Regions from separate parts of the Homo sapiens genome. Here region 1 is linked to region 2. Evidence: promoter capture Hi-C in human tissues and cell types (Jung and others, 2019). All regions are on one chromosome and are shown on one strand. The core of a region is centred on a gene start or on the middle of the fragment in contact, and the rest is flanking DNA. Distances in the headings are between cores, read along the strand shown. Region 1 holds the start of AP4B1 (adaptor related protein complex 4 subunit beta 1). Region 2 holds the start of CTTNBP2NL (CTTNBP2 N-terminal like).

Region 1 (5,440 bases), core at 1,388-3,887, 1.5 Mb before region 2:
TATGCTCATATGTGATGAAGTTAGAAGGCCTCCAGCGCCTCCAGACTTCTATTGAGTTAAGGCTGCTCAAGAAAAGTCTGCCAGGTGTGGTGGCTTGTGCCAATAATCCTAGCTACTGTGGAGGCTGAAGCGGGAGGATTGCTTGAGGTCAGGAGTTTGAGACCAGCCTCGGCAACACTGCGAGGCCCCAGTCTATACATTAAAAAAAAAAAAAAAAAAAAAAAAAAAAAACATCTAGTCTGGAGAAGTCACTGGGATTCCTTGAGAGGCCCACCTGTGTAGAGGATGGTTCCAAAATATCCTTCAAAGAGAAACATGACAGAACCAGGACAGTGATTGGCATCGAGGAGGGTTACGGTCATGGTCTCTTGTCCAATTTCATCTAGGGGTAATACATGGCTCTCACCAACCTCCAGGGCTTGGATCCATTGCTTAGATACCTGAGAAAACAGTTAGTCATCCCAGTGACCACTGACTCCTCTCCGTTACCTCCCCGGGTCAGGGACTATCCCTTACATGAATCAGGAAAGCTGACCAAATCCTGAGCCACCGGGAGCAGAAGCTGTAATGGGGATTCCCAAGCAATCTGCCCTTCCTCCTTCCACTTCCCATCCCACCCTTTGTACAATTTAAGAGTTCAGCTGGCCGGGCGTGGTGGCTCACGCCTGTAATCCCAGCACTTTGGGAGGCTGAGGCGGGTGGATCACGAGGTCAGGAGATCGAGACCATCCTGGCTAACACGGTGAAACCCCGTCTCTACTAAAAAATACAAAAAAAATTAGCCAGGCGTGGTGGCGGGCGCCTGTAGTCCCAGCTACTCGGGAGGCTGAGGCAGGAGAATGGCGTGAACCCGGGAGGCGGAGCTTGCAGTGAGCCGAGTTTGCGCCACTGCACTCCAGCCTGGGCGACAGAGCGAGACTCCATCTCAAAAAAAAAAAAAGAGTTCAGCAAACAGTCTAGTCAGCAATTCCCAAACTTACTCCTGATCTTAATCTCTTGGAGACTTAAGGGTGGGGTGGGGAGAGAGCTGGAGAACCACCCAGCACATTAGGTGGATTCTTAAGATGAGGCAAGTTTAGGCGGGGCGTGGTGGCTCACGCTTGTAATCCCAGCACTTGGGGAGGCTGAGGCGGGCGGATCACTTAAGGTCAGGAGTTAGAGAACAGCCTGGCCAACATGGTGAAACCCCGTCTCCACAAAAAATACAAAAAATTAGCTGGGCGTGGTGGCGTGCGCCTGTAATCTCAGCTACTCAGGAGGCCGAGACAGGAGAATCGCTTGAACCCGGGAGGCGGAGGCTGCAGTGAGCCGAGATTGCGCCACTGCACTCCAGCCTGGGCAACAGAGCGAGACTCCGTCTCAAAAAAAAAAAAAAAAAAAAAAAAAAAAGGCAAGTTTGGGAAACATCGGCCTAGCTTACTTATAAAGGTAGGAATAGTTTCCTTGGCTGGATTAAAATATCTCCTCAACTTATGGCTAACTATCTCAAGTTGGTCACTTCGAAAACACGTTCCTATTCTGGGTTAAAGATGCATTTTTGGGTTCAAACAACTTCCAAATCAGTTTTCGTGGCCCCCATTCTATGACTCCAAGAATGACAGGTTGAAGTCCCAACCCAGATGCCTGGACCAGCTCTCGGAGACCGACTCCAGCCCCATACCTGTAGGTGACGATGCAAGAGGTGGGCTGTAATTGGGGAGCAGTAGAGGGGCCGGGCCCAGGTGCTAGACAGGCCCACGGTGTGGTCCGAGTGCATGTGAGACAAGAAGAAGAGACGTGCGGTGCCAGCCCGGCGCAGGCTCCAGAAGTCCACTGCGATGGGCGTATGGGGGATCAGGACCCCATTCATGGTGGTAGGGTTGGAGTCACCAGTGGGATCTTCTCCACGGGGGCAGGGCTCCTGCGTGAGGCTTCCACAACGGCGTCCCGATAAAAGTCATGCTGGGGCAAGAACAGGGCCAGAGACCCTAAGGGAAAGAGCCCAGCAGAGCAATAAGTTACCAGAGTGGGCAGAAAAAGGAAGTCACCCTGCCCGCTGGAGCCCAAATCGCGGAGGGCGCTGGACACTCCCAACCGCGCGGGAGCGGAGGCCGAGCCGGGCACTCAAAGCGCGCGCTGCAGGGAGGAGACAGGCCAAAGTAGCCGATTTCCGATTGCCCGCCGCAGCTCCACCAGAGGGAGCCGCGCAGCTGCGCCTGGAGAGTGAGAGGTTGGGGGAAGGGCATCCTAAGGTCGGAGTCGGGACTACGCTTAGCGCTCGCTCGCGGGGAGACCGGCAGCGGTCTTCTGTTTGGTCTCTTGACAAGGGGGCGGGACTTCCGCAGAAAGCAAGATTGGGCCTATCCGCGATGAGAACGGCGTGGAGGGGGAATTAAGGCTGGAACTGGAGAGGGAGGGGTCTGCGGTCAGTCGGACGCGGCGCTGGAAATCCGGCGGAGGACCTAGAAGTAGCGGGAGCGATCTGTGGGCGGGGCGAACGGCCTGCCGGCCGACGGTAGGGCCTGAAGAGCCTAGGGTGGGGCTCGCGGTGTCGCGGAGGGCGTGGAAGTGTGTCAGGGCCAGCGTGCCGGCCCTACGGAAGCCGAGCCTGAGGCGAGATCTCGCCTTTTGTATTTTCACTGACTCATATTTCCTTTACTCAGGCTCCCACATCAGGACGAGAAGGAGCCCTCGAGTTACCGTGGGAGCTGTGGGAGCTGCCCTGTGACTCTTAGGAAGATGCCGTACCTTGGCTCCGAGGACGTGGTGAAGGAGCTGAAGAAGGCTCTGTGCAATCCTCACATTCAAGCTGATAGGCTGCGCTACCGGAATGTCATCCAGCGAGTGATTAGGTATCACCTACCTCCCTTCGCGTGCTAACTGCTCCCTTTGCAATCCCCATCAGGGCTCACTAGCCCCAGTCTCTCTGAAAGGGTGAATTAGCTTTCACACGTGGCAGTTATATGGTTCGGTCTTCGTCCTGCTGCTTTGGAGTACCATGTCAGTCTCCCCTCTGCAGCATCTTTTACTCAGCTGGGTAGTTTCCTCCATATCACGGGCTTGAGCAATTACTGGTGACTCTTGGATCTATAATATAGCTAGTACAGACTTCCTTTTTTAGCTTCAGACCCACGTATCCCACTGCCTGCTTGGCATTTCCACGTGCGTGGTTTATCAAAAGTATGTCCGAAATAGCCCGGACATTCTTCCGTCTTCCTCAAACCTGTTCAGCTTACATTTGTGTTGATGAATGCCACCAGCAGCCGACTATGCGTGGGAGCCAACCTTGAGGACACCTGATCTCTCACTTCTTATGTCAGATGGTTTGAATTCATAATTCTAAATATCCATCCTCTCTTGTTTATTAGCATTGTTGTTCTGGTCCAGGCCTTCATCAATAAAGCAATTGCAGCAGCTTACTAGTAGGCCACTTTGCCTCATTTGAGACAGAATTTTTCCATTATACATACCTGAACACATAACTCTTGCCTACAGCTATGGTTCACAAACTTTACTATGCATAAAAATCCCTTGGGGTGCTTTTTGTCATCCAGTCCAGGGACTGATTCTGATTTCAGTAGGGTGGGAGGGAACCCAGGAATCTGTATTTTTAATAAACATTTCAGTTGGTTCCAGTAGGAGACCAGTCTGAGAAACAATAAAGTCCAAACTTATCACAGCACCCAAGGAACAAGCTGTTAATTCAACTACCTACAGACTCTTAAAAAAATGTGTGCTGCTCCTGCTCATGTCTACTTACCTCATAGCATGTATCTTTACCTTGCTATTACATCTGCCTAGTGAGCTCCTGCTCATTCAGCTAAAGTATTACTTCCTCTGTGAAGAAACATTTTCTGACTTCCTGCCAGTGTCAGACCTCTGAATCCCCTCTACACCTTGTACAATACTTCTGTTTAAGTACTTATCTATCATACTGTAATTAACGGTATTCTCATCTGGCTCATTAATAGATTTGAAGTTCCTAGAGGTTTGAGACCACACCTTCTTCAAGATTATGTCCCAAGAGCATGTCCCTGGATGTAAAAGTTGAATTTCACCAAAGTACTAGGGATTCAATAAGTGTTTGTTGAGGCTGGGTGCGGTGGCTCACGCTGGTAATCCCAGCACTTTGGGAGGCCAAGGCGGGTGGATCACCTGCAGTCAGGAGTTCGAGACCAGCCTGGCCAACATGGAGAAACCCCGTCTCTACTAAAAATACAAAAATTAGCTGGGCGTGGTGGCACGCACCTGTAGTCCCAGCTACTCGGGAGGCTGAGGCAGGAGAATCGCTTGAACCTGGGAAGCGGAGCTTATAATGAGCCGAGATTGTGCCACTGCACTCTAGCCTGGGTAACAGAGCAAGACTCTGTCTCAAAAATAATAATAAGTGTTTGTTGAATGAATAGAAGAATAATGTTTATTGTAGGCCTATGGTATGAAGTACTGTGTGATATAATAGACAAGGTAATCCTGGCTGCTACCCTCTAAGAGATCACAATCTAGTTGGGTAATCAGGAGATATGTAAGTAAAACTCCCTCCATTGTAAGTTGGGGATTTTGCATTTTACTTCCTTCTGTCATGTGCGTTGTTCAGGTACATGACTCAAGGCTTGGACATGTCTGGTGTTTTTATGGAAATGGTGAAGGCCAGTGCCACTGTAGATATTGTCCAGAAGAAGTTGGTTTATCTGTACATGTGCACATATGCTCCCCTGAAACCAGATCTGGCTCTCCTGGCCATCAATACGCTGTGCAAAGACTGCTCAGACCCCAATCCAATGGTGCGAGGGCTGGCGTTACGGAGCATGTGTAGCCTCAGGTGAGTACCCTCTTCTCTGTCTGGTCCTAAATGGCTGATGAATTCAAGTGATCACAGGGTAGGTTTTTAAAGAGGATAATTTATTTGAGCTCCTTAATACTGGGGAAAACATTATTGTACCCTGAACTCAGATTTTCAGCCACTGCTTTGGCTTAATAACCTGTATCATATAATTTTATTAGAGGGAGTTTTTGATTCTCACTCTAAGTAAAATAGTCCTCAGTTTTGGTTAAATATCTCTAAACAATTATGTGTATATCTTTTTTTGCTGCCTGTGCATCATTATTCCAAATGAAAAGTCAAATTAGGCTGGGCACAGTGGCTCATGCCTGTAGACCCAGCACTTTGGGAGGCTTAGACAGGAAGATTGCTTGAGCCCAGGAATTTGAGACCAGCTGGGCAAGATGGTGAGAGCCTATATCTACAAAAAATTAAATGGGCATGGTGACACGCACCTGTAGTCTCAGCTACTAGGAAGGCTGAGGCAGGAGGATGGCTTGGGCCCGGGAATTCAAGGCAGCAGTGAGCTATGATCGGGCCACTGGGTGACAAAGTGAGACCCCATCTTGAAAAAAACAAGAAAAAAACAGAAAAGTCAAATTATGGCTTTTTAAGCTTGATAGAGGCTTTCTGCAATTCTTC
Region 2 (5,868 bases), core at 3,301-5,800:
CTGGAGTGCAATGGCACGATCTTGGCTCACTGCAACCTCCGTCTCCCGGGTTAAAGCCATTCTCCTGCCTCAGCCTCCGGAGTAGCTGGGATTACAGGCATGTGCCACCACACCCTGTTAATTTTGTATTTTTAGTAGAGATGGGGTTTCTCCATGTTGGTCAGGCTGGTCTCAAACTCCTGACCTTAGGTGATCCGCCTGCCTTGGCCTCCCAAAGTGCTGGGATTACAGGTGAGCCACTGCACCTGGCAATTTTTGTATTTTTAGTAGAGACAGAGTTTTGCCATGTTGGCCAGGCTGGTCTCGAGCTCCTGGCCTCAAGCGATCCACCCGCTTCGGCCTCCAAAAGTGCTGTGATTACAGGTGTGAGCCTCCGCACCTGGCCTATTCGTGTAATCCTTAAAGAAACCTCTCCAAGTTATTTCTATCTCACAGCTGAGGAAACAGACTGAGCTACGGTGAAGACAGAAAATTTTTCTCTTGCCCTGGATCACACAGTGAACAGTAGCACAGTTGGGATTTGAACCTAGGTTTGCCTTTAAAGTCTGTGTTGTAAATAATTACATTCTCCAGGCTCATGATAAGTAAGCCATTTTCTCACTAAAAGGCTTTAAATTGAACTTTGGAAGATTTAAATTTTAGTTATTAGCAGCAAATATTCAGAAACTTTAATTTTGTTAATTTTTTATTTTTTGAGATGAAGTTTCTCTCTTCTTGCCCAGGCTGGAGTGCAATGGCGTGATCTCGGCTCACTGCAACCTCCGCCTCCTGGGTTTAAGCCATTCTCCTGCCTCAGGCTCCCGAGTAGCTGGGATTACAGGTGACCATCACCATGCCTGGCTAGTTTTTGTATTTTTAGTAGAGAAGGGGTTTCACCATGTTGGCCAGGCTGGTCTCAAACTCCTGATCTCAGGTGATCTGCCTGCCTCAATGTCCCAACGTGCTGGGATTACAGGTGTGAGCCACCATGCTCGGCCAAATATTCAGAAATTTTAAAATGGCCTTTAGAAAACATGCTAATAAGCCACTCCTGGGGCCAACCAGCATAGACTGAACAAATTTCCTCTAGAAGCATATCTCTGCTTCCTGCTTCATGACGTCAAACACCAGTTAGATGGAAACCCCCAAGAAACACCATTCTGCTCCACTCAGAAAAACCAAGAATTCAAATCCTACGCTGCAAATCAACTGGTAGCACTGCAAATGTGATTCTGCCAAGATACAAATCCAGAGAAGACTGATTGTATTATGCCCACCACAATCAATAATCAGCCTGTATAATTACACTTAGGGACCCAAGGCTGTTCTGTGCTCCGTTCCTATTTTTAGTGTTACTTTAAAAACACAAAATCAACTAAAAATCCATTTTAAAAGTCCCAAAGTAGATCAATAACTTGTCAAAACCAAACACTCAGAAACTATTCTTTTTTTTTTTTTTTTTTTTTGAGACAGAGTCTCGCTTTGTTTCCCAGGCCGGGGCGCAGTGGTGCAATCTCAGCTCACTGCAAACTCTGCCTCCTGGGTTCAAGCAATTCTGCTGCCTCAGCCTCCTGAGTAGCTAGGATTACAGGTGCATGCCACCACATCCAGCTAATTTTTTACATTTTTGATAAAGACGGGGTTTTATCATGTTGGCCAGGCTGGTCTCGAACTCCTGACCTCGTGATCCACCCGCCTCAGCTTCCCAAAGTGCTGGGTTTACAGATGTGAGCCACCAAGCCTGGCCTCAGAAACTATTCTTGAACAAAAATCAGCAATCAGTCCCTAGTGATCTCTCCTAAATTCACTTCATTCCTATCAGGTCAGATATTTAGAACAATAAAATCCTAAAATGATTAGCACTCATTACGTTCTTAAGTCTGGTTCAAATTTCATGACAGTAAAATAGTATTTTCTAACTAGCAGATTACATATATATTTTTTTAACTTTTTTTTTTTTTTTTTTTGTTAAGAGACAGGGTCTCTTTCTGCTGCCCAGGCTGGAGAGTGCAGTGGCATGATCATAGCTCACTGTAACCTCAAACACCTGGGCTCAAGCAAGCCTCCTGCCTCAGCCTCCCAAGTAGCAAGGATTACAGGGATGAGCCACCACACCCTGCCTCACAGATATTTCTTTATAAGAAATTCAAAATTTTAGTCACTTAAGACACTGGAATTTCATAAGACAGAAGATGGGGAAAATCAAGTTAAATGAAGACAACAAGTAGGCCGTTTATACTAACAAATTGTGCCAAATCTAATCAGTACATTGCCTTTCAGTCTACCCTAAGGTGACAGCCTCAAACTAAGTTAAACAAACACTCATGAAGTCATACTATATACTAGGAACTGTGAAAGATATAAAGATGAAAAACAAAAAATACTACTATCTGCCCTCAAAGAATTTATAATTCAAGGAGAGAGATCAGACATCTATCCTCTGCATACTATGCTTTTCTTCACCTAGCATGACCAAACAGGTGTTGAAAAGGTTAAAGGAAAGATTTTCAAGACCCAAAAGTGTAACAAACAGATCTTGCTTACTGTGCTAAATAATAAAAGAATATTATTTGCTTTTTCCTATTAAACCTCGGCAATCACAACTTTGGTTTGCTTAGTCTCTTACCTTAGTTTATTTTCTGTTCTCTGTTGATATAATACAACTTATCTTTTTGGGATTTTCTGTTCTGCTTTTAGTTTTTTCTGCTGTTATTGCTGGGAGCTCACGTCTTACCCTTCTATTGCAGCACACATTGCGTTTGCTAGAGACACCCTCCAGTTTCTTCTTTGTACTTTCTTACTGGAGATTTGGAAACAATCACTGAGAAGACCTGTGAGCACCGAGTGGCTCTGAAAACTTCAAACCTAACTATTCAAAAGTAATTATCTTTAGGAAGTCTACCTTCAGAAAGTCTAATCAAGAAGGTAAAAGACAACAGTCATTACAATCACCCTCCGTGATTCCAACTCCTTGCATTTTATTGCCATCAGCTTTGGCTATAGCTGACAGAGGGGAGGTAGACTTGAGATTGGAAGCAAAAGAAACTATGCTAAAAACATGGTAAATTTTAATATATAAAAGCGCTAGCAATAGATGATTACTGGGGATTCAACGACATTAACATGAGGTCAAAATCAACACTTTGCACCTGCTGAAATGAAGACCACTTGACAAAACCTTTAGGAGCACACTAGAAGAGGCACTTTTTGGTAAACATGAATAGCTAGAATACCTTGCCTTTATTTACTCTTATCTCTGAGATTTAAAAATTGTTCTTACTTTTCATCCTCTAAATTTTGATAGATGATCGTAAAACCAATCAAAATATACATGAATGTTTCCTGGGGGCGGGGAGGACACTATAAAAAAGGGGTTAGAGAGTTACCAAAGGACATAGGACTAGATTAATCATAAACCTAGATGACTGACCCTGAATTTTCTTCAAACACTTCCTGTCTTTTGTTTCAACCTGCAGTATACCTTCAAGGTTAACTGCAGTCTCCCTGAGCAATGGACCAGCCCACCCTAGACTGGGATATACTCATTCCTAATCCACTGCTACTTATTTACTTATGTATACTGTTTCATTTGAAAACATGGTGTTATTCATTGACTGTCAAGCAACATATACTGCATTCCTGCCCACACAAAGCCAGCTCTGCAGATATCCAACACACCCACCTCACTGTGAAATATAAGATGGCTTTTCATCAAGTTCTCAGGGAGGAAATAGGGTGGAAAAGGAAAAATGAAACGCAATTCAAACCTAAGAAACCCTTAGAGGCTGGGTGCTCCCAGAAGGAACAGAAAGTAGAAGGAAGGTACAAAGGGTGAAGGAGAGGAGGTCCTAGTTCTCCCTCTTTCACAGTCCAAAACAGTCCCAAAACAGGAGAGCTCTCGACTCCTCACAAGAGGCCAGAGGATGCGAGGGGCTGCGGGAGGAAGACTGAGCATCAGAGAATGGGGGATGGGAAGAACTTAAGTGGGAGAAGCCGCTTCCTCCGTAAAGCTGGCTGTCTAGGTCGGTCTTTGATTTTTGCTTCGCCCCATCCCTCCTTTTTGGGAAACACCAATTTTATCTTACGGAGGAAAGCAGCTCCAGTCCCACCCTGGCGAGCAGGGACAGGTGTAGGGAGGGATGTTTGGCCTTCCGGGGGTACGAAATGGGGTTGGGGGCGGCAGCCTAGAGAATCGGTACCTGTGAGTCCTCTCCGCCAAGGCTGAGGTGCGGGGTGGGAGGTGCCTTTGAATGAGGGGTGTCAGAGGGAAGCCCCTTCTGAGGAGCTGGGAATCGACGAGGGACAAAAAGTAGCTGTGAGGACCCTCGGAGGATGAGGAGCCGCCTCCTCGGGGAATACCGGGAGGTGGAGGAGACGGCCCCGCCCCCTCAGGGGATGGGCCCAGAGGCCGTTGAGACGGCGGCGGGAGGCTACCGGTGCCCCTATCCTTGCTTTGCTCTTGAGAACCCGGCCTCCCAGCCATCACCAAGCCCCAGGGATAGTTGCTCCTACCTTTCCACGACGCTCCGGGCTCCGCTCCCCTCCGCCTCCACTCCCCATCCACAGCGGCTGAGGCTCCGCCCCCTCAGCCGCCCGGCGGGGGCATTGGCATTCACCAGCGCCAATCGCCTCCTTGCTTCTCCAGCCTCGGCCCCAATCCGCGCCGGCTGGAGGCGGGGCTTCTCCAAAGTCATTCAGGCTCCTCCCGGGGCCCCAAGATCCCTTTTGTTTGGGAAGAGCAAGGCCGGGATTGAGCTCGCGTCACTTCCGGGAGGAAGCGCCCTCCTGGGTCCTGGGCTTCAGGGTGGGCTCGCGCCCCTCCCGGCTCGGGGTCTGCAACTTTCCACCTCTGCGTGAAAAGTCTGGGCAGGACCGTGACTAGTGCTTCGTGCTTTTACCTGACTGTACGCGGAGTTTAGGAATGGAGGGCTCTGGTGGCCTAATCGATTGGGATTTTATCCAGAATGTTAATAAATGAAGTGGGCTTTGGTGTCTGCATTAGAATGAATTCGTTGTTGAAAAACCTGGCTTCCTTGCTCCCTTTTTTTTTTTCTTTTTTCTGGAAGCGCCTGTGGGCGTGGTGCTGGAAGCAAGGGTGCAAAGATGAAACACCTGGAGATCACCCTTCTCTCAACCACATTTTGTACAGAAGAGGATACTAACTTTGGGGGACATAAACCCAGCCGACCTGCCTTCCAGGCGGAAGTCAAATAATTGCAAATTTGTGTGGCAGGTTTTTCCACCCTATGCTTGCCAGCTGAGGCGACTTTTTTCTTTCCTTGGCCTCATTATATTGTGGGGAATGGTGTTTGCAGTGAAGTTGAAACAATGGAGAGTACAGAGGATGCAAGGAATGTCTGCCTTGTGAACACAGGAATGCAGATCTTGGTGGCAGCAAGTCTTAGGCAGGACCAAATAACTCAGAGAGGGGAGTGGATGTATAACTAGTTGTATCCCTACCTAAGGTCAAAGTTTCTGAATTCCTTTTCCACAGAATGGCTGTCAGCTCACAGATTGATGCAGCTGGTTACATTTACAATAACCACATTATTTAAAATACAATATAATAAATATTTGAGACGAATATTCATAATGCATAAATAATGTAGTACACTTAATACATTATCCCTAAACTTAGCAATTATAATTCGCAAGACAGCATTAGGGACCTAGTGCTTGCCTAGGCAGACAGTCCCCAAGGCAGATGCAGCCTGCCTCATGCAGTTTACAGTCTGACTGAGGGATGTGATCAGTTTGTGCGATTATAGTCTGAAAGAAGTAAACAAGTATTTATCATGTTATCACTGTGCCATGTACTTTCATTTAATGGTATTTGATGTCATTTTCAGTGCTGTATGAGAAATCTATCCTACAGTGTAGGATAGACAT

What was found. Contacts are between HindIII fragments. The study calls those that stand out against the background at their distance.
Region 1: the fragment with the promoter of AP4B1 here is called in contact with the fragment with the promoter of CTTNBP2NL in region 2 in 1 of the 25 tissues and cell types used here (stomach).

Annotation. Positions count from the first base shown.
Region 1 is chr1:113,901,996-113,907,435 of GRCh38, reverse strand. AP4B1 (adaptor related protein complex 4 subunit beta 1) reads left to right here and starts at 2,637. Exons shown (of 10, transcript NM_001253852.3): 1 at 2,637-2,831; 2 at 4,574-4,798. The coding sequence starts at 2,719. It overlaps DCLRE1B (DNA cross-link repair 1B), which reads right to left and starts at 2,110. Exons shown (of 4, transcript NM_022836.4): 1 at 1,661-2,110; 2 at 275-440. The coding sequence starts at 1,849. RefSeq lists enhancers at 2,222-2,271, 2,302-2,861, 2,942-3,001. The HindIII fragment of the contact is 11,361 bases long and covers 1-5,440 here.
Region 2 is chr1:112,394,896-112,400,763 of GRCh38, reverse strand. It overlaps CTTNBP2NL (CTTNBP2 N-terminal like), which reads right to left and starts at 4,550. Exons shown (of 6, transcript NM_018704.3): 1 at 4,492-4,550. RefSeq lists a silencer at 4,303-4,352. The HindIII fragment of the contact is 13,857 bases long and covers 1-5,868 here.